Linked DNA regions of Homo sapiens: regions 2, 3, 4, 5 and 6 are each linked to region 1. Evidence: promoter capture Hi-C in 16 types of primary human blood cells and fetal thymus (Javierre and others, 2016). All regions are on one chromosome and are shown on one strand. The core of a region is centred on a gene start or on the middle of the fragment in contact, and the rest is flanking DNA. Distances in the headings are between cores, read along the strand shown.

Evidence for each region. Contacts are between HindIII fragments. The CHiCAGO score rates a contact against its expected background, and 5 or more counts as called.
Region 2: a fragment that was not itself captured here is called in contact with the fragment with the promoter of FAM98B in region 1 in 2 of 17 cell types (non-activated CD4 T cells and naive CD4 T cells); the score reaches 7.7 in non-activated CD4 T cells.
Region 3: a fragment that was not itself captured here is called in contact with the fragment with the promoter of FAM98B in region 1 in 7 of 17 cell types (activated CD4 T cells, naive CD8 T cells, naive CD4 T cells and 4 more); the score reaches 13.1 in activated CD4 T cells.
Region 4: a fragment that was not itself captured here is called in contact with the fragment with the promoter of FAM98B in region 1 in 3 of 17 cell types (activated CD4 T cells, total CD4 T cells and naive CD8 T cells); the score reaches 6.9 in activated CD4 T cells.
Region 5: a fragment that was not itself captured here is called in contact with the fragment with the promoter of FAM98B in region 1 in 4 of 17 cell types (total CD4 T cells, naive CD8 T cells, total CD8 T cells and 1 more); the score reaches 7.1 in total CD4 T cells.
Region 6: a contact is called between a fragment that was not itself captured here and the fragment with the promoter of FAM98B in region 1, in 3 of 17 cell types (naive CD8 T cells, total CD4 T cells and total CD8 T cells). The highest score is 9.0, in naive CD8 T cells.

The regions. Positions count from the first base shown.
Region 1 is chr15:38,452,140-38,456,787 of GRCh38, forward strand. It overlaps FAM98B (family with sequence similarity 98 member B), which reads left to right and starts at 1,988. Exons shown (of 8, transcript NM_173611.4): 1 at 1,988-2,093. The coding sequence starts at 2,023. RefSeq lists enhancers at 2,136-2,245, 2,306-2,405. The HindIII fragment of the contact is 3,660 bases long and covers 1-3,082 here.
Region 2 is chr15:39,794,116-39,798,763 of GRCh38, forward strand. No RefSeq gene overlaps it. Among named protein-coding and RNA genes, the nearest start is that of FSIP1, 14 kb to the left of the region's middle. The HindIII fragment of the contact is 2,202 bases long and covers 1,148-3,349 here.
Region 3 is chr15:39,752,703-39,757,350 of GRCh38, forward strand. The region is part of intron 5 of FSIP1 (fibrous sheath interacting protein 1); the gene reads right to left. Among named protein-coding and RNA genes, the nearest start is that of FSIP1, 28 kb to the right of the region's middle. The HindIII fragment of the contact is 1,099 bases long and covers 1,560-2,658 here.
Region 4 is chr15:39,718,625-39,723,272 of GRCh38, forward strand. All of the region lies in intron 9 of FSIP1 (fibrous sheath interacting protein 1), which reads right to left. Among named protein-coding and RNA genes, the nearest start is that of FSIP1, 62 kb to the right of the region's middle. The HindIII fragment of the contact is 572 bases long and covers 2,357-2,928 here.
Region 5 is chr15:39,630,086-39,634,733 of GRCh38, forward strand. The region is part of intron 10 of FSIP1 (fibrous sheath interacting protein 1); the gene reads right to left. All of the region lies in intron 2 of LOC105370785 (a long non-coding RNA gene), which reads left to right. Among named protein-coding and RNA genes, the nearest start is that of THBS1-IT1, 46 kb to the left of the region's middle. The HindIII fragment of the contact is 3,626 bases long and covers 1,049-4,648 here.
Region 6 is chr15:39,576,004-39,580,651 of GRCh38, forward strand. LOC124903470 reads left to right here and starts at 3,804. Exons shown (of 1, transcript XM_047433405.1): 1 at 3,804-4,648. The coding sequence starts at 4,315. RefSeq lists an enhancer at 4,167-4,648 and silencers at 4,327-4,556, 4,567-4,616. The HindIII fragment of the contact is 3,643 bases long and covers 162-3,804 here.

The DNA.
Region 1 (4,648 bases), core at 738-3,237:
ATAACTTTTGTTATTCATTTATTTAGATTTTTTAGGAAAACCAGCAGCAGAACACTTAAGATCAATAATAATAAAGAACAGTTACCTCATTTCTATTTGATTTTTACAGAGACTTTTTGCCAAGAGTACTAAGACTAGTACCTTCTATGACACCCCAACTCTGACAAGAGGCAGTAACCACTAATATACATTCTCCTCTCCCTTATTTGGAGATGAATTCAGATACATTAAACTGCAAGTAATTTTACGCTTAAGCCTTGTACAACACTAAAATATACAGTAATAATAGTCATTATACAAATGTATGGTTGAGTTTATGATATGGTTAGGATCTGTGTCTGTGCCCAAATCTCATGTTAAATTATAATCCCCAATGTTGGAGGAGGGACCTGGTGGGAGGTGATTGGATCATGAGGGCAGAGTTCTCTTGAATGGTTTGACACCATTCCTGCCTTGGCACTGTATAGTGAGTGAGTTTATCATGAGATCTGGTTTTTTAAAAGTGTGTGGCAGATCACGAGGTCAGGAGTTCGAGACCAGCCTGACCAACCTGGTGAAACCCCGTCTCTACTAAAAATACAAAAATTAGCCGGGTGTGGTGGTGGGCGCCTGTAATCCCAGCTACTCGGGAGGCTGAGGCAGGAGAATCGCGTGAACCCGGGAGGCGGAGTTTGCAGTGAGCTGAGATCATGCCACTGCACTCTAGCCTGGGCGACAGTGCGAGACTGAAAAAAAAAAAAAAAGTGTGTGGCACCTCCCTGCCTCCCTGCACCCTCTCTCTTCCTCTTACTCCGGCCACGTGATAGCTGCACTCCCCCTTCCCCTTCTGCCACAACTGTCCATTTCCTGAGGCCTCCCCAGGAGTGGAGCAGATGCCAGCATCATGCTTCGTGTACAGCCTGTGGAACCATGAGCCAATTAAACCCCTTTTCTTTATAAATTACCCAGTCTCAGGTATATCTTTATAGCAATATGAGAGTGGACTACTACAGCTTACCTTTGAGTGTTTTACACATTTATGGGTATGCTTTTTGTTTGTAACCATAATTAGGAAGGCGAGAGCATTACTGGTCTTTATTGGACTGGGGCTACGAATGCTATGTAGTCTGCAATGGAAGGGACAGGTCCATACAAGGGATCAATAGTTATACTTCATGCAGGATTTCCAACAGTTCTGCTAGAGTATTCATGTAGGTGACATGCCTGCTAATAATGATCTAACCTTATACTCTTAGTACCTTTTACATATGAACCCTAAAATACATTTTTTAAATCCTTTAGATAAGAGATTGAATTCTTCATGGATAGTACACAGAGGGTATATTATGTTTTGTTTGTTTGGAACTTTACAGAGAATTCGCCACAATTTTGGAAAACCACATCAACTACCTTACTTTGCTGGCGGTATGTTTGTTGCTTATACAACTAATGCTTTGTCAGCAATGAAGCACATCATCTGAATATGCAGTTGAGGGGATTCTACATAGATAGATGCAAGCATCTGATCACTTCATTGGTCTTCCGCATTTCATAAGGAGAAAAATATTACCTTGTTATAAATTACTTCATTTTTTCCTTCAAGTTGAAGCATCGTCGTGTATATTGATTTAAAAATTATATGTGTAGGCATGTGATATTAGTTACTAATTTTAGCTGAAGATAATTATAATTTTATTTCAGATTTCTGTTATTAAAAAGGTCTGGAATCGGATAGGTTGAGATCAACCCGATACCACGATATTTGCTAAAATTTATTTGAACACACAGAAAAGTCCCAACACAGAGAACTCTTTATTACTATTATTTATTATTTCTACTATTCTTTTAAAAAATTATTATCGTTACACGCAGCGGTTTTAGGCACTATGAAGTGTTTATTGCCTCGGGGCTGGGAACCTTTGCGCCCTTCTTCAGCTGTGCTCTCAGGCAGTTACCGGCCAGACCCGGACCGGAACCTTGGCGCGGTGACGCTAGTTTCCGGCGGGCTACTTAGAGCGCCGAACAGCTCTGGGCCAAAGGACCATGAGAGGGCCGGAGCCGGGTCCCCAACCGACGATGGAGGGAGACGTGCTGGACACACTGGAGGCGCTGGGGTGAGTGCTTTTGGAGACGCCTTTTCCCTGAAAACGCAACCTCTCCTTGGCCTGGCTGCTTAGCCTACTTCCCTTGGGCCTCTGTGGGCCTGGGCGGCCATGTGTAGGCCTCCTTCCCTGCCTCGATCCCTCCGGCGCCGACGGAGTTAAGCGGGAGGCGGGAGAGAAATCTATTTGGGGGGTGGAGCAGGGCCGGAGAGCTGGGGTTCGTGGCCCCCTCTTCGAAACTTCTTGCCTCGAAACTCTGTTGCAGGAATCCGCCGGGTGGCGCGGAGCGGCCCTTCTAGCACCGGTTTTCTGGGCTAGCTCGCGCCCGCAGGTGATATTTGTGTTGACGTAGTTCTGGCGCCCGGAGGGAGGTGCTGGAACCTGAGCTGCTGTTGAGGACTGTTGTCTCCTACAATGTACAACTTGTGGCTTACTTGGGGCTCTGGAGCGAATGGCTTTTACTTTGACCGGAGAAAGTGTTGTAGTTCATTGCGAGTTCGTTCTTTCAACCATTTCGTCCGTTCGTCAACGTGTATATTAGCTTGTATATTAATTTACACATATTTACGTTTGTAAATTTCCCCTAGGCAAGGGAAAAGGATAGTTTTTCAGATTACTCTTGGCTTACATAGTCGCGCAGGCTGCAAGTCTGCTGCCGGCTGGTATTTACAGTGCAGAATGGTAAGTGCTGTGAGAACTCAGGGTGGAGGTGGGAGTAATGTTAATACTTAACAAGTGTGGTGGTTCGTAATCTCCCCCTCAACCTCATCCTGTTTTTTTCCACACAGCTCTTGTCCCCATCCCAAATTATCATGTCCTGCCCATTCATTTGTCTCTTGAACTCTGCTTCTCCCTCGTTTTATTCCTCCTCCTCCCCAAGTCAGCTCCTGGAAAACTGATGCTTTGCATATTTTATTCACCGATGTTTTCCCAGCAACACACTAGAACGGAGTCTTTTACAGTAAATAGTGGTTGAATGAATGAGTAAATGAATGAAGAAAAGCTTAGAGAAGAGTCCACAGCAGTAAGCATAGGACCAGATAGTTGAGTCATACAGTGCACATTAAATAAAGAGCTTGGAGCCATCTGCACATTTGTTTGCCCTGCTACGTGCTGCTGTTTCTTGATAGGGGAAGCTGTGCCTTTGCAGCGTTATTATGAAGCTTGAACCAATCCCACACCCCACTTTATCTTCTCTAAAACTGCATTTGCCCCTCTATCAATTGTTTCTTTAGTTGAACCCTGATAATACCTACTTTGCAGTGACCCAGGGTTACGGAGTCTTGCACTTAGTAGATCGTGAATACATATTTGTCAAACGAAAGAACAGTGCCATTGATTATTTAGGGGGCATTTTTACTTCTGTGAAGTCCCTTGGAAGTTCTCACTTAACTTGGTTAAGAAGGAACCAAAACAAGAACTGAAAATACTTAGTAGAATTATTTAGGCTCCAAACAGTTTGAGCTCCCAAGTACTTCAGGTAAGAATATTGGGAACTCATAAATGGTTTATGAAAAAGGAAAAGGCAGTGCTTTTCTTCTTTCTTCATTTCTTGAACTTATTGTTCATATTATAAGTGTTTTAGAAAATTCATTGCTATAATCTTGATTTTTATCAAGGAAAATTAGTCAGATTATTCAACATGGAAAGTAAAACAGTTTACACACTCCAAAATTAGTTTTTCCTGGAATAACTATGAGGGCAACATTTTGAAGTTTGAATTCTCCTATGATAATACGATGTGAAAAAAGTAGTTATTTACAATATGTGTTGTAATGGAACACTGTGTTTTCAAATATCCATGTAGATAGTGAATAATGCATTTTCTGTTGTAAGGTATTGAGGATATCAGCAAAGGTACTTCAGTTTGTCATGTAAAATAAATTAATGGGAGGCATTTGAAGGGAAAAATCTATGTGAAAGGACAATTTAGTGATACAGGTGAAAACAGGATAGGCTAGGAGTCAGTCAGTTTTCTCATCTGTGAAAAGAGAGGGCTGGAGCAGATGATTTTAGAAGTCTCTTTCAGTTCTGATAGTCTCTGATTTTGTGGAATAGTAGATCTCAACACTGGAAGTACATCAGAGTCGTGTGGAACTTGTGAAAAACTGTTCCAGTCTAGTATATACCATAGACTGACCGAATCATAATCTTCAGAGGTACAGTACAGACCTGCATATTTTTAAAAAGATTCACAGACTCAGTTGAGAAACACTACTATGGAGAGAAGTTTCCTTTAAATATTTATTGAACACACTGTATATTGGACCTCGTTCTGAGGAGTCAGTGGTGAGCAAAATAGACTTGGTTCCTACCCTTGTGGAGTTTATAATCTAGTGGAGAAACAGACATGATCACAAAAACAATTATAAACTATAATAAATGTGTCAAAGGAAAAGAACAGGGTGATGTAACAGGAGGATCTAAGAAGTCTTAGGGGTTAGTGATAGATTCCTGAGGAAGTGACATTTGAGTTGAAATAAGAAGGGTGAATAGAAATTAAGTAGTTAAGGTTGGATGGATGAAAAAGGGGGACAAAGATATCCTTACAGTGAGAAGAAAATGTG
Region 2 (4,648 bases), core at 999-3,498, 1.3 Mb after region 1:
GCTCTCTTGTGCAATACTTCCAATCCTTAGGAAGGTAAAGTCCTGACTGGAAGGGCATTGGGAATGGAGTGTGGGGAGAAGATATGGAAGTGCAGGGTAGTGGGGAAGCTGGACTAAGGAGAGGCAGCTGGCCCAGCAGTGTGGCACCAACAGCAGATCTAGCCAGGGCTCTAATTACTTCTCAAACAGCCATCAACCTCCCCAACCTGAGCTTTCATATCAAAGTCACCTAGAGAAGCCAATACCTTAGCTAAGAATTATTACTGTCAGGCAAAAAAATAAAATAAACCTCTTGCAAAAAAACTGGAAACTAAGACAAACCCATAGAGAAGAATTATCCTTAATATCCTCAGCGAGATAGTAGAAAATGTTTCTTTCCCTTAAAAATGAAGATCCAAAGGACACAAAAGAAAAGAAAAGAAAAAAAGAGAGGAAAAAAAGCTCCAGGGAAGTTCTTAAGTCTGCTGCCCAGTCAGTTACCACCTTCCATCTGCTTTCCAGCTTCTAAAATTTGTTGCTGTTGTAGACTCACCTGGAACCAGAGAGCACTTTGTCTTCTCTCCTATTCCTTGCATCCTTCTGGATTTATGACATTTCTTTTTAACCCCTTAAATGTGGTTTTAGTGGCATTTCAGGAAGAAATAGAATTAGACACGTATAATCAATCAGTCATTTCTTATCAGGAACCACACATGGTTCCTTTGTGGGGTTTTCTTCATTAAGTCAATATAAAACTTCAGATACAGCATAAAAAGGTAAATCCCAGGCAGGAAAACAGTGAATTTTTTTAGAAGATTACTTTATTTTATTGAGATTGTATCCCCAAACAGGAGCAATTTCTGATGCGTTCTTCTTTGCAAATAATAAATTAGCTCACATATCAAGTATGATGAGGGTGCTTTCTGCAGAAAATTGTAAAACTTTGACTCAAACTTGTGTGTACAACATGAAATTTATTGTCTCACATTAACTGGAAGTTCAAAGGTAGAGACATGTGACTTAGCAGCTGAGTGACATCATCAGGTACATGTTGCCCTGTCTGTACTGTGCTGTCCTCTTTGTCACCTTTATTCCAAGGCTGGCTCCCCTAACTGTCGTCATGATTTACTGTAGAGTCTGAACTTAGAATTGGTAACTAATCCAAGGAAGCTTCCTTTCTTGTTCCTTAACTGTAGCCCAGGGAGATCCTAGTACTCTACGGTTACTTTCAGATATTGAAGAGTCTGGTCCAGTTTTAAAGTTCACGATGATGCCTAATGTAATGCTCTTCCTCTCCCCCAACTCAGGCTTGATCTGTAGCCCAAGGAACTCACCATGAGTGGATGAGAATCCTCTCCTCCTATAGCTTGATGTTTCCTCTCGCGGGTCCCCCTTCTGCCTCCATGGAGTTAGGAGGAAGGATGGGCAAAAGGAGGAAACATCTTCTCCTTGATTGGTGCAGCCATTGTTCTCTCATTGGTACTTGGTGGGGAATCTCCAGAGGTGTGGCATGTGGCCCTCAGTGTACACATCTCTGGTGCCAGACACAGTGCCGGCCTGACCACTTTCAACCCCTCTCAGCATCCACCCACAGCCTCCTCCAAGTCTGGCCAGGGGCCAGTTTTCAAGTCGAGTTTCTGTGGTGTCTCCTTGACATTGAGAAAATCACCCATTCTCACCATGCCACATGATGGGTGTGCAGGATGCCCTCTCTGTTTACTCTGTCATCTCTCTCCAATTCCTTTCTCACACCTCCAAATTCAGAGGGCCGATCAGCAAGCCCATCCCTGAAGCAGATATCCAGCTGAGGAAAAGCAGCCAGGCTTGCATTTTTCCACCGAGCAGATGTCTCATGACCTACACAACTCTCTTTAAATTTCTTCTGTTTTCTCCATAAATAACCTGGGTTTGCATGGAGGACAGAGGTAAGGGTTGGGGAGATGGTCCCCCCCTCCTCAAACCACCTCAAACTTTTGGCTAACCCAGCGTGTCTCAACCTTAGCACTACTGATATTTTGGACCAGATAATTCTTTGTTGTGAGGGCTGTCCTGTGCATTAGAGGGTATTTAACAGCATTCCTGGCCTTTACCCAGTAGATGCCTGGAGCATGCCCCACTCCTTGACAATTACGACCAAAACTTCACTGGCCTAACCCCAAGAGTCCCCTCTGTTCTCCTAACACCTAGGTTTTGAGACCCAAATCTAGGAAGAGATTCAAAGGATATCTGCTTTCCCTTGAGGCAATGAAAGCCTCGTCCCCTCCCCTGAGGCAATGCATGTGAATGAGAGGGGCCAGGCAAAGAGAGAAGAGAAGTTAGATGCACAGGTAATATGGTTAATATAGCAAGAGCATCATGCCGTGTGTTCTATTTTCTCACCTGTTGCCTTAGAATGTATACCACGTGTTTATTCTAGTAACTCCTTTGTGTGTGTATTACATTTTGTATATGGACTGCAATGAATACACATATAAAGAGAAATTTAAGGGAGGCAGAAAGATTTCATCACTAAGTTCTGATCAACATAGCTGATGAATAATTATTCTTCAAGCCCAACACACATGCCTGGAACTGCGTTTCTCAGTATTGAACTTCCCCTCCAACTTTGGAACTTACACTCCTAGTGCATTAAAAGGAGGCTTGGGTATTTGAAGGAGATGGATCAAAGGCCTTGCGTTTGATGCCTTTTAACTCTGCAGGAGTCATTCCAAGGAAATCAATAAGAGCCAGCAATAACTCCACTGAAAGCAAATCTTTCATCACTCATACACGACAGAGACCGCACCCCTGCTCCAGGTGCTGTATCTCTTATGTATTCATTCACCATTCACTCATTTCAATCTGGCAATAAGAAGCCCCTGAATCCCCAGGACATGAAGTGCTATAGAGGTTCGCATAAACAATGCTGGAGATCACAGTTTCATTTCTATACAGGTTTCCAACCTTTATTCTACTGATCAACTGATACCTTTGGCACAAATGGGGGAAAACATGGGTTGAAACTGAGGCTAAGAAAAAGGGAGCTGTTTTATCTTCTGAAACCTCATGTATGGAGAATCTAAGCTCATTTCCATTTATTTTATACGTCTTGCACAAAAAGGCTTTTGATGCTGCCCTGGGCATTGATACTTATTTCAATTCCTATTTTATTCACAGATTCCCAGGTTATTTACCATGACTCATTTCTCTTTTGGTTACAGAGCTCTAATGTGGCACACTAGTTGGGATACAAATCTGCTAAATATTTACAACTATTTGGGGAAAGTGCATCACTATGTTATGGTATTATTGACACTGTATGTTGAGACGTTGGTACACTACACTATGAAAGCATTAACCCTTTCCCTCCACCACAATTCCGCCCGTAATAAGCTTTTTTCCTTGTGCATCTCTGATCCAACCTGTAGCAGCAGCTCCATATGCACAGAGCCACCTCACCTCGGGCAGGTCTGCCAAGAGCTCAGCAGTACCCAGCTGGGATGCAGCAGTGGCTTTCCTCCTCAGATGAATCAGACTGGTGCTTGAGCTCCAGATGTTCATTTAGCCCACCAACTAACTTGCAGTTTCTTTCCTACAGATGGGGCCACTTTGGATTTGCATATCTGTCCTTAGATACTCTATGTACTCTACTCTGTTCTTACTTCGATACGGTCATTGAGTGCATTCATATTCAGATATGGCCTACACGTTAGTGGCCAAGGTGAACCTTCTTTTAACATCCTATTTTTTTCAACTGAGAATTGTCTAATTAAGAAATACTCTGGCTTACAGAGTTATTTTTTCTTCAGGGAATCTAATAGTCCCTTGGCATTATGTATTACCCCAAAGTATCATCATTATGAAAATTAATTACTGTTAGAATAACTGGGGAAAAGACCTACAGTTTTCTAAGAATATTCCGCATAAGCTGCCTAGCCACTTTATTTTTTTATGTAACGTATAAGTGCTAACACTGATATAGCTGTACTCTGTGCCAGGCATTGTGTTAAACAGATTATCTCATTTAATCCTAACAGGTGCTCTATGCCTCACTTGGACTCCCTGAAAACAGAGCTTGAGATGAGGGCTTTGTGCAGGTAGTATGTTTGGGAGGTGATCCTTGAGGCATGAATGAGGACTGCAGAAAGTGAGTCAGAGAAGGAGAAAGTAGAGTCAATATAAGGCTGCATTATTGAAGTGCCATGGTGGGCCACAGGGACTTAACTCTGTGTCAGTGACCTCTTGAGAACTGGACAGAGGCCTCCCACAATTGTCCAGCAGGACAGGAAGCAGGGGTATTTATCCAGTGGTTCCCATGCCCCACAGGCCAAGGATTATTCCCAGACACAGGGAGCTCTGCTTGCAGGGAAGCGAGTAGATGCCGCCAGCAACAGCCCACTGCAGACACAGCTAAAGTCATAGGTGAAATATGTGAGAAGGGGCAACAGAAGCTTCTGACACAATTATTATCCTCCCATTTTACAGAGAGAGAACTGAGGTACATGGAGGTTACTTCATCCTCCCAAGGTCACAAGGCTAGTCAGTGTGGGGCCAGGATTTAAACACAGGCAATCTGACCTCAAAGCTCATGGCCCTAACTGCTGTGCTCCTGACCTCCCGCAGGAGGGATGATGACGGCTGCACTCCAGGCTTCCCTTGTGTAGCTCCGCCTAGAGATTTGGGTGTCTAT
Region 3 (4,648 bases), core at 859-3,358, 1.3 Mb after region 1:
GAGGGTTAAATGGAATGTGGCATCCTGGATGGGATTCTGGAACAAAAAACGGACATTAAGTAAAAGTTAAGGAAACCTGAATATATCAATATTGGTTCACTAGTTGAAACAAATGAACCATACAAATGCAAGATATTCATAATAAGGGAAACTGGGGGTGGGTATAGGGGAAATCTCTGTACCATATTCATAATTTTTCTATGAATGTAAAACTGTGCCCAAATAAAAAGTTTAGAAAAAACTTCCAGGTTAAAAAGATTGAGAAAACATTAACAAAATTAGAGATAAAGAGGATGTACAAACAATATGAAAAAGAATTATTATTTAAAAGACTATCTGAGATTGCATGTTAGTAAATTTTTAAATCTTCATGAAGTGGATACTTTAAAATCTTAGTGACATGGATGCATTGCCAAAATTGACTCCAGAATAGCTAGTAACCTGAAATAGAATAGCAAATATGAAGGCAGCTGAGAAAAGAGTCAGAGAAGTGCCTCCAAGAAATTATTTGAACCAGATGGTTTTTCCAGTGAAATCTTTCAAATTTGAAGGGAACAGATAATCCCTGTGTTATATAAACTGTTTCAAATCATAGAAATAAGTGAGCAGCCATCCCCATTCATTTTATGAAGTTCACACAGCCTGACAAAGCAAACACACATACATCGACTCTCCACCCTCAACTTCACCCCCTATACCATAACAAACATTTCACACACCTGTGTGTGCACACACAAACACAACTAACCTTGCTTATAAATATAGATGCAAAAAATCTGAATAAATTCATTCATTTAAATCTGGTACTAAATTAAAAGAATAATCTTCCATAACCAAGAAGGGTTGGCCCAGGAATAAAAGACTCATTTGGTATTTAAATCCATTAATTTTAAAACATTAAATATGTTGGACATGAAATAAAAATTTATGATAATTTAAATATATATTGAAATGCATTCAATAAATTTCAACACTAAGTTCTTACAGCTCTCAGCATAGGAATAATTGTTAAAAAGGACACAAAAATTAACATTATTTCCTGGTTATGTGTTCATAAACTAAAAAAAAGGTAAACAAGTAAAAATAATTAAAATTAATAAGATAATTTAGTTAAATGTACAAATAGAAAACAAATTATAAATGTCTAAAAAGTCACTAACTTTCGTCTATGTCATTAATAACCCTTTATAAATATGATGGGCTAAACACCAATCAGGGTAATAACAATAAAAAGATATATAAGACCTATGCATAGCTAACAGATGTATGAAACCTGAAGAAATTCTTTGACATATAAATGATAATATAAGAGACACAAACCATGTTCCTGTTGATGCAGTAACGTCTAGTAATCACAGGATTACTAATAATAACTCAATTTGTTGAGCACTTACTAAGTGCTCTAGAAGTCAGCTACCATGTTGTGAGGACATACACGCATCCTATGGAGGGGTTTGCGTAGTAAGAAATTAAGGTCTCCAACCCAAAGGCAGCAAGAAACTGAGGTCTGCAAACAACCATGTGAGTGAGCTTGGAAGCCGATTCTCCAACTCCAATAAAGCTTTCAAATGACTGTAGCCCCGGCAACCATTTGACAGGAGGGATCTTGAGTCGGAACCACCCAGCTAAGATACTCCCAGATTCCTGGCCCACAGAAACTGTGAGATTATAAATGTTTGTTGGCTTAGGTTGCCATGTTTTAGGGGTAATTTGTTACACAGCACTAGATAACCAGTACAATGATCTTGCAGGAAAATAATGACACCATGGAGGCGAGACTGAAAACTGTTTGAATAATCTGATAGAGAAATGCTGAGACCAAACCATTTAATAATGGGGATAAAAAAAAAACAGGTCAGATACAGATAGGGCAGAACAAATACTCATTTGGGGAACTCAAGGAAGAAGTGTAAAAGAACAATAACAGAGGAACTGAGGCTGGCTCTTCAATTTCTAGTTTAGGAGACTAGGTGGGTGATGAAACCATTAACTAAAGCAGAGAAAACATATAAAAGAAGGAATAAGTTTCAACAATAGGAGGAAGAAGGAAAGAAAAAGAAGAAAACCAGCAGGGAATAACAAATCCAGTAAAAATTGCACTATGCTATGAGAGGTCACTGTGTCAGATTCTACAGTGATGTCAAGTACAATCAAAACTGGAGGTATGCCATTAGATTTCAAATTTAGGAGGACCACTTATGAAGCAGCTTCCACAGCGTGACAGTAGAAAATACAGACACTGAAAAGTTAAGAAGTAAATGGAAGTTGACCAGGTAGCACCAAGAGATGTGGACTATTCTTTCAAGAAGTCTGACCTTTAAGGAGAAGAGGGAAACTGAGTGGTGTCTGTTTTAGAGTAAGATTAAAAAAAAAAATGAGGAAAAAGGCTTATTTGTATGTTCTGTTGGTTATTCATTGGTTCAATGGCTTTTTGATTCTGTTTTAGGACTAGAAGAGTTAAACATGGTAAGTTAAAGGGAAAGAGCCAGAGAGATTGAAGCTCTAGATGAAAAAATGGAATGACGAACAAACCAACAGCCAGGAACACAGTGAAAGGGATGGGATGTTACTGATTTTGGCCTCAGAGAATAAGAGTACCTTCCCTCCATCTAAAGTTAGAGGCAAGAGGCAGAGGATGAATGAACACAGTCAGGATGAAGCTTAGAAACAGAAGAAATGAATGTAAAAGGAATTCCTACCCTGTAGATTCATTTTCTCTGGAAAGGAAGACCAACCAAGACAGTGAAGGTCTTGCAGAAGATGGGAGATGAAGCACATAGTAATAGTTTGGAATCACCATTTTGGAGAATGCAAGAGATTGCTAAACAATGCTGAGACTCCAACAGAAATTAAAAACCAAAATCCTTGCCTGTGTCAGTCAGCACAGTTATGTGATTTCCTCCCTCTACCCTCTGCATATCAGAGTAGAAAGAGACTACCAGATTTTCTTTGAGTATTTAACCCAAGCATCCAAGAGCAGAAGTATCATATATCTGAGTCTCACAGAAAAGGCACCTAGAAAAAAGTATTCTCAAATTTGAAAAAGCCTAATTGGTTATGATGTTGATGTTTTGTGTTTATATGCATTTCTATATTTGGAGCTAGAAACACAAGAGAGAAACGTGACAAAGACAAAAAGAATAACCTCTATCAAAAAGCAACCCTGTCACTAGATGTATTTGTCTCAAAGAATATTGAATTCTACCTGTATTCATTAGATAAATGATAGAAACTAAGGGAAAACTCCTGGCGATGTAAAAGAGTTTTGATTTTTGCAACATGCCTCTAAAAAAACCCAAAAGTGACCCCTCAGTAATGGGATGGGACAGACTTTTAAAATACTTCAGAGATCTCTAGCAAGTACAATATTGTTTACTTCAAAATCCCAGTAAACTTGAGGTTAATATGTCTGGATTATAAGGTTCAAATGTGATATAAATCAATTTAATGTTGTTTTCAACTTTCTCTTGGAGTCAAGGCATCTTTTGTGTTTAGCACCTATAAATAAAAGTAAATGCACTATCCAACCACAGTTATTTTCTTCATTTATTTGCTGTTGCTTATTTGTGATGTTATAAGCCAACTGGGATGGGTTCTGTGTTTTGGAAGCTGAAAACAGGTTGGAAATTGCCATTCAGCCATCAGCCCAAAGTCCTTAAGGTTAATTTTTTGTTTGTTTGTTTGTGTTTTGGAGATAGGGTTTCACACAGTCACAAATGCTGCAGAGCAATGGCATGACTGCAGTCTCAAACTCGTGGACTCAAGCAATCCTCCCACCTCAGCCTCCTGATGCTTGGCTAATTTTTAAATATTTTGTATAGACAAGGTCTTGCTAAGTAGCCCAGGTTGGTCTCGAACTCCTGGCTTCAGGCAATCCTCCTGACTCCACTTCCCAAAGCGCTGGGATTACATGCATGAACCACCCACCCAACCTGAAGCTAACTCTTAAATAAGAGGATAAGAAAAACTGACTAGAAAAGAAAAATATCCATCCTAAGAATTTCTCCCTTTGTTTAAAGACAAAAAATGAAAAGAAAGAAAGTAGGTTTGGGTATATTGATAGGTATGCTGAAATAGGTCTGGCTTTAATAACGTGATCATGCTTAAAATGATTCTCTCTGAATATAGCTTTCAAGTCCCTTGCAGCTCCAGCTTTCACATCATTAAGTCCACTGAATTTCCATGTTAGAACATCAGGACTAATCTAACATTACAAGAAGTGTCTGCAGGGTGTAGAGCAGTCACATGACTCCAGAAATACAATGTGAACTCTATAGGTTTAAGCCAAAAATGTATGCCAGGAGCTTTAAAATTTTTTTAAATGCTTTAAGGCTTTTTAAAGTACTTATTGTAACTAGATGCTGCCACCTACTGGACAATTTACAAGTGCCTGAAACTGTGCTGGCAACAAAAAATTATACAGGAAAAAAAGGCAAAATTTTCCTGTTTTCCTAATAATACTTATAAAAATATCTTATTTAGAAATGTATGGCTATATATGATTGATTAAAATAATTTTTAAATTTTTATACATTTCTAATTAAAACAGTAGCTGAGATCTAATGAGTAATGGGAAATTCATTTCATTGTAGAACAGATGAAAGTAGCTTCGTACCACCTTATGATAGTGCTTATGTTGAAATACCAG
Region 4 (4,648 bases), core at 1,393-3,892, 1.3 Mb after region 1:
TGGCTGGGACTACAGGTGCACACCACCTCGCCTGGCTGATTTTTTTTGTATGAAGAAGAAATGGGTTTCACTATGTTGCCCGGGCTGATTTTGAACTCCTGGGCTCAAGGGATCCTCCCGCCTCAGCCTCTCAAAGTGCTGGGATTACAGATGTGAGCCACTGATTTTTTATTTTTAATAAACTTTTCTGCCAAAGCCATTTTTGTCCTGCTCTGACAATGTGACTCTCCATACCTAAGAGGTATACACCCGAAGGTTGGATTCTAGCTTCCAATCCAATCAGCTGTGCACTTTTGAGGAAGTCACCTCCTCTTTCTGGGTCTCAGTTACTTCTGAGAAAGTTATTTCCCCTTCTAATAGCTTATGAGTCTATAATTCTCTACAGTTAGACCCAAAGGATATATAACAGCTTTCTTCAGTCATGGCCTCCGATGGCATAACCATATAGTTCAAATATTCGAAAAATACTGTATGATGAAAGCAGAGGCCAAGAGGGGGCAAGAAAAGGTTGCCACTGATGCTGATGAAAATTGCCCAGCTGCAAAAAGCTCTGTGGTGCCAGGAAAGATTCTTTTTTCACAACAAAGTGCCAACCAGTACTATCTGTCCTCGTGATCATCAGGAAATATCTTGATTTCTCATAGTAGAAATATTTAATCAGATTATCTGACCAACATATCATTTCTGTGTTTCTGGGTCATACAGGAATGCCTTCATGGAGAATTCAATAAAAGCTCTCCTCCATATGCCACAAGAAGAGAACTGTCCCTGAGGCCAAGATCAATAGATACTTGTTGATTTGACTAATTGGTTGCCAAGAGATTCTGAGTTTATCCTTAGAAAAATTATCTGTGGTGTTGACTAGGCCAAAAGGGATCTTTGAAGCAAAATAAACTCATTTTCAAAAATCAAAAACAGCAAATTACCCGCAGCTTCGTAAGTTATCTGATATGCAAATAAGGCATGCGTTAGGATTGGGAAAATACAAACCTGCCTAAATAAAGACAGCTTGTCCTATGTTTTCGAGACAATGCTATACATTTCTGTAGGTTCCTGCTATTTCTTGTCATTAGATGGATCGTGTGTCTGGCAGTACCAAAAGCAGGGAAAAAGATACTTCAGGCAGATTGTTTTTATCACCTTGGAATAATGCCATAAAATGAAGGAAACCTTGACTACATCAGAAGCTTAACAGAGGAAAGCAAAGAAATATAAACTTCACAGTAATCTGTAAAATGGAGGTGGCAAGGGCAGTTTCCCAGATTTAACTGGAGATCTAACAGATTGGCACTGGAGGTAAAGAGCTCTGAAGTAACTTCTTGTTTGTTCCTCAAACCCAGAAATGCATGCTCCTGTGGCTTCTATGGGTTTTGGAAATGAGCAGATGGTCAATAAGATTTCTGTGCCTGTGACTAGCATACATTTAAAAAATCCTAAATTCCTGCCCTCAACCAACACACACCTAAGTACATTTGGGGTCAAGTAGAGTCCATGGCCCTTACTGGAACTATACAAATCCCTGGACCCAATAATAAAACATCTTTCAGAATTACATGTCAAACAATGGTCTGTATTTCCTCAATTTTAGCTAATATTGAGACAGGAAGACATCAAAAAAAAATTAATTGTTGCTGTCAGCAATAATAGCATGATCTTGGCAAGAAAGGAGATCAATACAAACTACAATTTTCCTCAATCAAATGTTTGCTAATTTTTTCTCAAGCTTATCAAATTGTGTACAATTGAATCAATATTTCAAGAATAAGAAAATAAATCAAATTAAGGAGGACCTTTATATTCAATTAAACTAGTTAGTTTAAGAACACAGCAATGCCTCCTGTCAAGGAGAGCCATTTCTGAGGCCCTCCCCAACCAGAAAAAAAATCTAACGGTGAACTGGAATTCTAGATTTAGTAAAGCTGACTTCATGAGAGATGAATAAAATATACTTGTATATAACAGCCAAATGGAATAGAATTTACTATTGAATCCGGTTGCTAAGGATTTAAGAAACTGAATGCTTACATAACTCCTATATCTTAGATATTTCTGGAGAGAACTGGAATCTGATACTTCTACGAATAAGAAGTATGGTAACTAAATTATAGAACATCACTCAGTTTTATGGTGGGATTTACAATACGTGGAAAGAACGAACTGATTTGTTGAGGGTTAGGAGATGGATAAAGAAAAGTATGCACAGTTAAACCACAGATCTTAAGAAAAAATTGCTTCAATTAGTTCTCTTGCTAAGACAAAATGAAAATAAAAAGCAGATGTAAAAACTGCAACCACATATTATTCACACTACAGAAAGAGCAGTAATATGCCATTCTTTCTTTTGACTGTGACCACAAGCTTTGTTTTATGCTAAGGAAATCAGATACGTAAAAGCCAAATGCTGCTTTTAAAACATTGCCATAAAGTTAAGTGCTGGGCCAGAGCATCTATATGAGAACATCACAATCAGTGAGCCCATAAGGAAAAGAAGACTTCTTATCTGCCCTTTTCACAAAGACCAACACCTCCTTCATCTCTGAGCCACATTCCTAGAGTTCCTCAAACTATTCTGACTTAACCACATTGACTCAACCACATTTATCATCTTAAATCTATATGCATACCAACTTACTACCTTATAGTTACCATACAGAGATAAGTCAGAAAGTCTATGTTTCAACTTGTTCAGAAAACTGTTTTCTTGACCAACAAAGATAAATCTTCAAAGGAATTTTTAAAATATCATGCCTTCATCAAATAACCTTTCCTTTCTCTGTGCTCCCGCAGCATACACTTTCCGTACTTTTCATCTGATCAGTGCCCATCTGGTGGTGGTTCTTGTTTCATTGCACAGTTACTCCACAACTTGTTCTATTGTTTACATCATATCCTCTGGTATCCTACAAGCTACCTTGAGGTCAGAGATCAAGCTTCATACTAGTCTGGACACTACATCAACCACTACAGTGTCTCCTATGAAATAAGCAGGCATTCAAAAATGTATTGACGATCTCTGCAAAGGCTGAACAAGTAACATAAATGCATGAAGTGGGCCTTAGGGCCTGCCATACAATATAGAGTGGTGGATACTGCAGCAAACCGGAGAATCTGTGCCCCATAGAAAGAGCAGTTGCTATTCATCTCAATTCGGTAATTGTCAAGCAAGAAGTTAGGTCTAATGCTGACATATTTTCTAATTTGAATTTTTCAAGAGAGAACTAGAAATTTGGATTTTTATAGGAATTTACCTAATTTTTAAATGTTGGCTAAAAAAAATCATTAAACCCTTTGTAAGCAAAAGCAGACCCATCTGGGAGCTTAATTTGTCCTGTAGGTCAGGGGCTCCTGACCCCCCAGGCCATGGACGGTTCTGGTAGATGGCTTGTTAGGAACCGGGCCCCAGAGCAGGAGGTGAGCGGCAGGCCCAAGTTCAACTGTATTTGCAGCTGCTCCCCATCACTCATGTTACCGCCTGAGCTCTCCCTCCTCCTGTTAGATCAGCAGCGGCATTACATTCTCACAGTAGTGTGAACCCTATCATGAACTGCACATGCAAGGGATCTAGGTTGCATATTCCTTATGAGAATCTAATACCTGGTGATCTGTCACTGTCTCCCATTACCCCCGGATGGAACCATCTAGTTGCAGGAAAACAAGCTCAGAGCTCCCACTGAGTCTACATTATGGTGAGTTGTATAATTATTTTGTTACAATATAATAATAATAGAAATAAAGTACACAATAAATGTAACATGTTTGAATCATCCCAAAACCATCCCCCTCTCTGGGCCCGTGGAAGAATTGTCTTCCACAAACCCAGTCCCTGACGCCAAAATACTTGGGGACCACTGCTGTAGGCCACCAGTTTTCAGCCTCGTGATACATAATGGTGGTTTTCTTCTGTGTCTCTGATCCCTCTGCCTCCTTCCCTAGTTCCTCTTCCTTCTCCTGCCCCTCACTTATGGAAATAGACTTTCTGGATACTCCTTGGATATGCTCTCTCTCTCTCTGCTCTAAACCACCACAGCACTTTACTTAGAGCCTTCTATGAATCTGGGCACTTTGGGAGGTTGAGGCAGGTGGATCTCTTGAGGCCAGGAGTTCAAGACCAGCCTAGGCAACACAGTGAGACCACACCTCTAAAAAAAATTAAAAAATTAGCTGGTGTGATGGCATGCACCTGTAGTCCCAGCTTCTGGGGACGGTGAGGTTGGAGGATCACTTGGGCCCAGGAGGTAAAGGCTGCAGCAAGCCATGATTGCACCACTGTACTTCCAGCCTGGGTGACAAGCGAGACCTTGTCTCTTGAAGAAAAAAAAAAAAGCTTTCTATGGCACCTGCCTGTGCTGTCTTGTCCACAGTTTTCTACGTATACTCAATACCTCCCATAAGGAAATAAGTTCTTTATATCACTTATAATAACATAATTGGCTGAGATCTGTGTCACTGTGCTAAACACTTTATGTATATTAACTCAGCTACCCATTACCTAAAGAACCTTAAAGAATATTACTATTATTTTATAAATAAGGAAAACGAGGTTTGGAGAGCTTCTAATTAGTGCCCAAGTCCACAGAACTAGTAAATGCAAAAGTCAAATTTGAAGTGAGACTGTTTTTTTTGAAACAGAGTCCCGCTCTGTCCTCCA
Region 5 (4,648 bases), core at 1,612-4,111, 1.2 Mb after region 1:
CTAATTACCCCTGTACATTCTGTAGAGCACACAAAGCCCAACGTCATTACATAAACATGAAGCTCCATATTAATATATTTGCTCAGTGAACTGTCCTTTTACATTTGCCAATCTGAACGTGAAATCATGCTACTGCTGAGAATAAGGATACTATATTGTGAATAAGAAGTTCCAAGTTGTGCTATGATCCAAATTATGAAAGTTAAATTATCTAGAGAGCAAACCAAAAAAGCTGTGTAGTGAACTGAATCCAAATTCAGAAGAATCTAAATAGCTTGATGCATACCCTCTCTTAAATGACACATTTAAATAGTTTCCCTTTCACACAGAGCAAGAAACTTTAAGAAAGAGATGAATCCGTCCACCTCCCTCCCTGTCAGCGGGTCCCTTATTAGGTGGGTATCCAGACCAGCCCAGGTCATTAGTCAGTTGCACTGGGGGTGGGGCATGGAGGGAACAGGGCTGATAGCCCTGGACCATCTACTATGCACCACATACAGTATTTATTCCATTTACCTCTTCCAACTACCTAGTGGGGAAAATTGGAAAATCATTCTCCACATTGAACAGATAAGGAAACTAAGCCTCAGAGAAATTGAATGGTCCAGGGCCCAGAACTAATAAAAAAAATGAAGCCAGACTATAAAGTTAGGGCCTTTTCACACTAATTGTCTTCAGACAGATGCTTACAAGAGTTAGTTAAACTCCTTTTTCGAGGGGGAGCACCTGGCAGCAGCATGGTACCATAACATGCCCCCTCCACACTCTATCCGGCATCTGAAAATGTGATACCACAGAGCAGCCTAGTAAGGGGAGCCCCTCTCAACTCATAAATCTGAGGCAAGTGTATAAACAAGAATCCCTCACCAGTGGGTGGCGGCTGCCCTCTGTGTCTCCCAAACCTGGGGCATCAGGCTGTGCCATCCCAGTACCCTCTGCATCTACTTTCCCTGCTGGATGTAAGCTCCTCGGGCTGGCACCAGGTCCTCCTCATCTCTGTGTTCCCATACCTAGCACAGAGCCTTGGTATAAGATGCACACATGGCAAAGCTTTGTTGACTACATGATGCTTTCTTTGGGTGCTCCTCCACCCTCTGCAGTGACATCGCACCCCTAAAAACTCAGTGCTCTTAGTCTGTCCCCTTACTGACCAGTGGTCCTAGGCCATGGCCCATCCTAGGCCCAACTCCTCTTCTCTCCCCGATGTCTTGTTCCTTCCAGAGCGCGCACTCCCCACATGACTTTGTATGACAATGGTTTAAGCAATTAATGAACCTTTGTTTATGATTTGGGCACAGCAGATAGCAATGCTTTAACTCCTGGAGAGCTCCCCAATGTGAGAAACCTCAGATCCCAGCAAGGGCAGACAGACAGACAAACTGGTTGAAAGGAAGGGTGCTGAAAGTATTCTCCATATCACCCTGTATAGGCAATGACTCACCCCACCTACAGGCAGAGGCGAAGTAACGAAGACACCTCTTCCCAGACTTCATGTCCACTCACCATGGAAAAAATGCTTCAGATTTGCAAAAATGCCCAAGCGTAATAAAAAGCCTGCATTCTGGGCCTACTGCTGTGATATTCACTACAAGTCTGACATAGAGGTTTAATTTGGTCTGCTGTGAAAATAGAACTGAATAATAATCACAGTCTTTGATTGTGGTTAGGTTTAATTATAGAAACCTATTCAAGTACATATATATTAATAGAAAGCCTCACAAACATGGCAGAAAACCATTTCTGTTCATAAGTATTTACAGGGAAAGCTCTCCTTATTTACTTTATTTAAATAAATATTTCAAATCAGCAAACCAAAAAAGAGCCCCCATCTTTCATGTGAACATTTTCTAATCATGTCATGTTAATATTTTCTCCTTTGATTTCCAATGAGCTAGCACAAGCTCTGGCCTCTGCACTAGATGGTGGTGCTGAGTCACTTATTTAGAATGGAATTATGGATTATATAAAGACTGACGAGTACAATAGATGTTCAATGTGGTGGTTGTCGGAAACATCACCTAATTAAATATGCTAAAATATTTTGGCTGAAAATTTGTTTTAAATCTTCAAATTTTTATACCTTCTGATTTTCTTTGTTGTTGTTGTTGTTGAGACAGGGTCCGACTCTGTCACCCAGGCTGGAGTGCAGTGGCTCAATCTTGGCTCACTACAATCTCCACCTGCTGGGCTCAAGTTATTCTCCCACCTAGCCTCCCAAGTAGCTGGGACTACAGATACGCACCACCATGCCCGGCTAATTTTTTAATTTTTTTGTAGAGATGAGGTTTTGCCATGTTGCCCAAGCTGGTCTTGAACTCCTGAGCTCAAGCAATCCTCCCACCTCAGCCTCTCCAAAGTGCTGGGATTACAGGCGTGAGCCACTGCGCCCGGCAACTTCTGATTTTGTAATATAGAAATAACTGTCTTGGCCAGGCATGGTGGCTCAAGCCTGTGATCCCAGCACTTTGGGAGGCCGAGGAGGGTGGATCACGAGGTCAGGAGATCGAGACCATCCTGGTCAACATGGTGCAACTCTGTGTCTACTAAAAATACAAAACTTAGCTGGGCATGGTGACGTGTGCCTGTAATCCCAGCTACTCAGGAGTCTGAGGCAGGAGAATCGCTTGAACCAGGGAGTCAGAGGTTGCAGTGAGCCGAGATCGGCCACTGCACTCCAACCTGGTGACAGAGTGAGACTCTGTCTCAAAAAAAAATAAATAAATAACTGTCTTTGGAAGTCAGACAAAATAATGAGCAGCCTTTATTTCCTTTTAATCTAATTTCAAATTAATGTTTTAACTTCAAGTAGGCAGGGCAAAAACACAATTTCTCTCAAATCGGGTAATAAGAATTAATTGAAGGGTGATAGGTCGAAATACAAGGAGCATAAAAATGAAAACACAGAGATATGGACTCAGAATTGTACTTCCCTTTGCTAGACATAAATTTCACTCCTATAATTATCATTTTTAATGTCCAAAATCTTCCCCACATAGGCTATACTTCTTTTTTTTTTTTTTTTTTTTGAGATGGAATCTTGCTATCGCCAGGCTGGAGTGCAGTGGTGCGATCTCGGCTCACTACAACCTCCCCCTCCCGGGTTCAACCATTCTCCTACCTCAGCATCCCAAGTAGCTGGGACTATAGGCACGCACCATTGCGTCCAGCTAATTTTTGTATTTTTAGTAGAGACGGGGTTTCACCATGTTGGCCAGGATGGTCTCGATCTCCTCACCTCGCAATCTGCCTGCCTCTGCCTCCCAAAGTGCTGGGATTACAGGTGTGAGCCACTGCACTCGGCCTGGCTATACTTTTTAAATGTCCAAACAATTAATTAACTTAATCTAGTTTTTTTTATTCGTAAAATGCATTTCTTAACTGAATTCAACAGTTAATTAAGCCAGGTGACTTCTTCATGACTGACCCGTTAAAATCAATTTTGCATTTATAAATTACCATGAACCTATTAATGCACAGTATAATTACTGTATTATAACTAACTTCTACACTAAAACTTGCAATATGGACTGTGAAGCCAGTGGAGAGGAAAATCTTTAGACGTAGTTAATTGAATAAATATATAAATTTGAAGATTCATTAGGGATTTAAACATTCCGTTTCAAAACTGAAGCCATCACATACTATTATTCTAATTTATTTCAACCTATAGTTCATATTTAAGTGCTAAATATTAAAATGTTGTAATAGACGCTGATTATATCATCTTCATGTAAAATGAAACACCAGACTTTGCTGTCATACACACTGGACAATAGGTGAAAAAACTCCAACAGCAGAGTAAACCAACAACATTCCTAAACGATCTAAAGATTCTCACAGCCTCCAAATTTGCAGATACAGAAACTTACATATAGGCCCTCAGTTCTTCCACAAGCTCCACCACCCATCTACCAGCACCTGTACCCAGTGCCCCACCATCCCTCATGTCACTAAACGGACTCCCTGTGCTCCTCTTGATGGCTGTCCCCTCTACCTGCACACAAGAGACCACCTTGTCTTGCCTACTCAAGGTCATCGCTTTGGCAATCTCCCCACTCTCTTTTGCGTCACTGCTTTCCCCCTCTCTACTGGATTTTTCCCATGAGTATACAAAAAGCTGCTATTCTCCAATATTAAGGAAAAGCCCTCTTTTGATCCCGTTCCTCTCTCTGCCCACCACTGCATTTCTCTTACTTTCTTTACAATAAAATTTCTTAAAATAATTGGTCTTACTATCACCAAATCCCTCTCCTTCTATTGTCTCTTAAACTCAACCCAAACAGGGTTTAGTCCACCACTCCGTTAAAACTGCTCTTGTCTATCACACCAATGCCCTGCACATTTCTACAGCAGCTGTTCATTCTCAGTCTCCATCTTACTGGACCTCTCAGCACTGTATAACACAGCTGAACACTCTTCATCTGGCAACACCTGGATAGAGCATATTATACATTTCATAACTCAGCCCTATTTGTCAATGTAACTTTCTACTTTGATTTATCCAGCAATTTCATTTTTTGGCCAAGAACTGCAACTTTCTCAAACCATTTTCCCCTTTCTTCATTGTCTTCACCACACTAGCATGTGGCCTGTTTAGAGCTACTTCTCAGAACAAAATAAAGTATCTAAAACACAGTGATCATTACTG
Region 6 (4,648 bases), core at 733-3,232, 1.1 Mb after region 1:
ATTTCAAGCATGGGTAGAGAGAGAAGAAACTGAGAGGCAAGAGGTATGGTTTGGACTCATCAAATTAAATCACAGGTGACTTTCCAGTCCCCCCACCACCCCGATCTGTAAGGCTGCCTTTGGGTGCGTGGCCTTCCTGCAAAATGGCAAACACTTGAAAAAGCTTCCACGCTGAAACCCAAACCAGACCATATTTAGGATGCCCCATAAGGTGGCATTTTTTACTAAGATGATAAAGGATAAACATTGGTGGAGCCAGAGAGGCTGCTCCCAAATACAGTCCTCCCCATCAGCAACACTGCAGTAGCCTGCACCTATCGTCCAGAGTATGAAAAAGACTTTTGCCAAAGACGGCTTTTGGGGATTTATCATTATTACATGTTAAGAGCCTGTTCTCCATGTCCTCACCTTCCTACCTTGCTAATCTTCCCCATTTCCATCTTTCGGCCCAGTGTGAGACCTCACCATCTCCTTTTCCCATCTTCTTTCCTCCATACCCTTGGTTTCCTAGCAGGTCAATGCCCCTGCCCCTTCACTGGAATCCATCCATCCTGGTTATTCTTTTCTTTATGAACCTGCTGGACTACATCTCAAAGTTACCCAAAAGAGGGATACAAAGACACAATAAAATCGGAAATAACGCTCACCCTTACCAGCCTGCAGTTAAGAGTGTGTGGAACTAGGGTGGCTGCAGGCAAAGAGATAGGGGGAAGGGCTGCCTCATGCCATGGGCAGGACAGTAAATGGTGCAAATTTTCTGGAAAGCATCTTAGTAATATAGGTGAAGAGCCTTTACAATGTGTTTATCCTATGACCTATCCTTACTTCTCTTATTCTAAAGGAATAAGAAGAGGTTTAATCAAAGCATGAGTGAAAAGGCCATCCAAACACAGGGAAAGGGGCCGTTATGATGTCTACGGTTCTAAGAAATAGAAAACAACAACTTGGCTTAAATAATAAGCACATAACCAAAGAAATCTAGAAGTAGGATTCCCTTAAGAGTTGAGAGATTTAGCAGCTCAAAAATGTGACCTGACATACGAGTTCTTTCTATGCTTTTGTTCTTCCTCCTCCAACACTGGTTTCACACTAAACTTGGCTCCCCAGTGGCCAATAGCACCAAACAGCACTTATCGGCATTCTTGTTGGTATCCAAAAGAGATGGAGAAAGCCTGATTTCACATGGCTCTTCCTTAAAAGCAACAAAGGACTTTTCCCGGAAGCCTTCAGCAAACCTCGTCAGATTTGAATCACATGCCAATTCCTAAATCAGTCACTGGCAGGGAAGTGGGAAAAAGGGGAGGAGGTGTTTACCCTTAACCAATATGCCTACCCCTGCCCACTGAGATCAATTCCATAAAAGTATTGCTTCAGTTCTTTGAAGAGGAGTACAATGTTTGTGAGTCACTCACCACATTTACCCACCAAGAGCTAAGGGATAACTGAGTAAAATGGTAGAGCTGGTAGGAAAATGGTGAGTAGTCCCGTCCTTCTGTGCCATAATTGACTTGTACACAAAGAGATTTGGAAATTTAAACATAAGAACTCTCTCTTCCCAAGCCCAGGGCTTTGGGCACTTCAAGTCTGGTCCTTGCCTGGGCACAGTGGCTCACGCCTGTAATCTCAGCAATTTGGGAAGCCAAGGAGGGTGGATCACCTGAGGTGATGAGTTTGAGACCAGCCTGGCCAACATGGCGAAACCCCAACTCTACTAAAAAATACAAAAATTAGTTGGATGTAGTGGCACACGCCTGGAATCCCAGCTACTCAGGAGGCTGAGGCAGGAAAATCGCTTGAATCTGGGAGGCAAAAGTTGCAGTGAGCTGAGATTGTACCACTGCACTCCAGCCTGGGAGACAGAGCAAGACTCCATCCCACCCCCCACCAAAAAAAAATTCTGGTCTTTACATGTGAAAAAATAAAAGCTAATTTTTAAAAACTAAATAATAAAGAGTGTTAGGTGATAAGTTTTATGATAGAGATAATGTGTGCTTTAAAACACACAGCATAAAACAGATGGAAAACACCTCATGGAGAAGGGAGAGCTTGAATTGGTGTTTGATTGAAGGACAAGAAAAATCTGTTGGTAACTTCCTCCTGGCTCTGACCTCTGATGCAGTTAAAGTAAAGCAACTTAGAATTATGATCTAGGGAACATATTCAGAGAGAAATGAATTTATGATGTCTTCAATTTGAAGATGCTATGATTTTAGACTATTCTAGAATACAATGATTTTTCATTGCTTCACACTTGTAAGAAATGTTCCACTACTGAAAATTTGCAACACTTAAAAAATTCCTACACAAAATCACAGCCCACCTTGCTGTTCTATGCTAAATAAACAAAATATTTTTTCTCAATTATGTTGCTCTCCTTAATTACACGCAATTTTAAAACTAGCTGTAACTGACAGCCCTTTCCTCACACTTACTGCCAATGTATTTAGGTCAATCCCACCTCCAATTAGAGAAACTTAGAAAAAGGAAATCCTACGGTGAAATGCCATATGCCTTACAATTTTCAGTAACTAATCCTCAAGGATGACAACTTGGCAAAAAAGAGAACTGGACCAGCTCCCTGAAAGGTCCATCACTTCGGCCCATGTTAATTGATTGCCTTAAAATCACAGTGCTTCCAGGTTGTAGAGACACACTCAAAATGGACTATTGCCCTCACATTAAAGGGGATAGGTTTTCTTTTCCCTTTTCCCATCCCTGCTTCTCTCAAAGCTGCACAGAGGTATATGAGGTTTGGGGAATATTTGCAGCACATGTTGGCTGGCAAGAATGTGGGTGAATTCCTGTTAAGGGGCGCAGACACTCCCTCTTCTATGACCTTTCCTTTCCACCCAGAACAACTGAAGTATCATGATAAGAGGAAGGGCTTTGTGTTTGAGATAAGCAGCTCCTATACCTGTCAGCTTTCTCTAATAAGAAAGCTCTTTCCTGCCACCGTATAGGTCACCTTCTTATTGGTAAAGCATGATGAAGTTTGGAAACTGTTGTCCTTGTTTTGTTGAAAGAAGCCAAGTTCCAAGAAATCTGCAGAGGCATTCCTACAATCCCTCAGCCATGGCAGCATGAATCCTGAAGGGGCAGTGAGTGCTGGTTTCTACTCTGTCTGCACAGCTAAGCCTAGGGGAGATAATCTTTTCATACAAGATGCATTCTGCTTTTGTGGGCCTCTTGCAGCCCTCAAGCCCCCATCTGATTTGTACACAATGATCCAGTGGGCCAGAGGAGCCCAGAGCCATGAGCGGCCCATCCCTCCAAGAACTATTTCTGACTGTCCAGTATCATGGAGCAAGTGGAAAGAAGAAAAAAAAAACCCAATTACTTTTCGAAGAGCAAGATGAATGCTGTAGAAGGAGAAGGAAGGGGAGGGAGATGGATGGGTGCCGATTCCAGAATCTTCAGATCTGCTTGGATGAATCATTACCTATGATTTGCGGGACAAGAATCTGATTTTATTCATCAACCAGTAGAAACTTTTCTTTCTGCCTCCCAACATCTGAAATCCAACAAACATGTGCCTTAGGAACATACCGGTCATCTTTTAGAGGCATTTTATATACATATTGAGTAACTAGAAAACACTCTTTCCGTAATACACACACACACACACACACACACACACCATCTTGTCATACAACACTCCCACGCAAGAAAAGCGAAACTGCTGTTTGATGAATGTAAACACTTGGCTGTTTGCAGCAGTCGGGAGTCCTGCCAGGTTTAAGTGCTAAGATGGGAGGTGAACCCCAGGGGTTTCCCCCTGCCCGTGCTGAGATCCTTATTTGGTCAAGCTTCTACCTATGCCCTGGCCTCGGAGCGAGCCCGATAGCGCTGGATCACAGCAGAGGGAGCGAGGCGGCTGACGTCCCATCCCGAAGAGATGAATGGAATTCCAGGAAGCTAGAGTCATGCTGGCTTGGGACAGTGGCTTGGAGACCAGACTTCAATGACAGAAGCACTAGGCAGCGGCACTCATGGCAATGTGTGCACCCACAGAAATGTAACCCACACCTCGGGTTCAGGAGCCGAAAAATGAAAAGAACGTTTAGGGAGGAAAAAGGGAAATACAATAATAGGCAGAGAGTAATTTATTACTCTATGGGTCTGCTCTGTAAATAGCTGAAGACTCTGGAGCCAGATGGTTCTGCAAATTCTCCAAACAGGAGTCACGTTAAGAAGCACGAGTGGGCACAAAAACTGTTTTTCAAGACACAATTTCAATTTGGCTTGTGGAAACTGGATACGAGTAAGTTTCCTTAAAATTCGAGTAGAAAGCAGCTGTCCTCCCCGGGCCCCTTGATGAGAATACGCACACCGCCCCCAAGCGGCCGGCCGAGGGAGCGCCGCGGCAGCGGGAGAGGCGTCTCTGTGGGCCCCCTGGCAGCCGCGGCAGGAAAGGGCCCGAAGGCAGCGAAGGCGAACGCGGCGCACCAACCTGCCGGCCCCGCCGACGCCGCGCTCACCTCCCTCCGGGGCGGGCGTGGGGCCAGCTCAGGACAGGCGCTCGGGGGACGCGTGTCCTCACCCCACGGGGACGGTGGAGGAGAGTCAGCGAGGGCCCGAGGGGCAGGTACTTTAACGAATGGCTCTCTTGGTGTCCCCTGCGCCCCGTCGGCCCATTTTTCTTTTTACA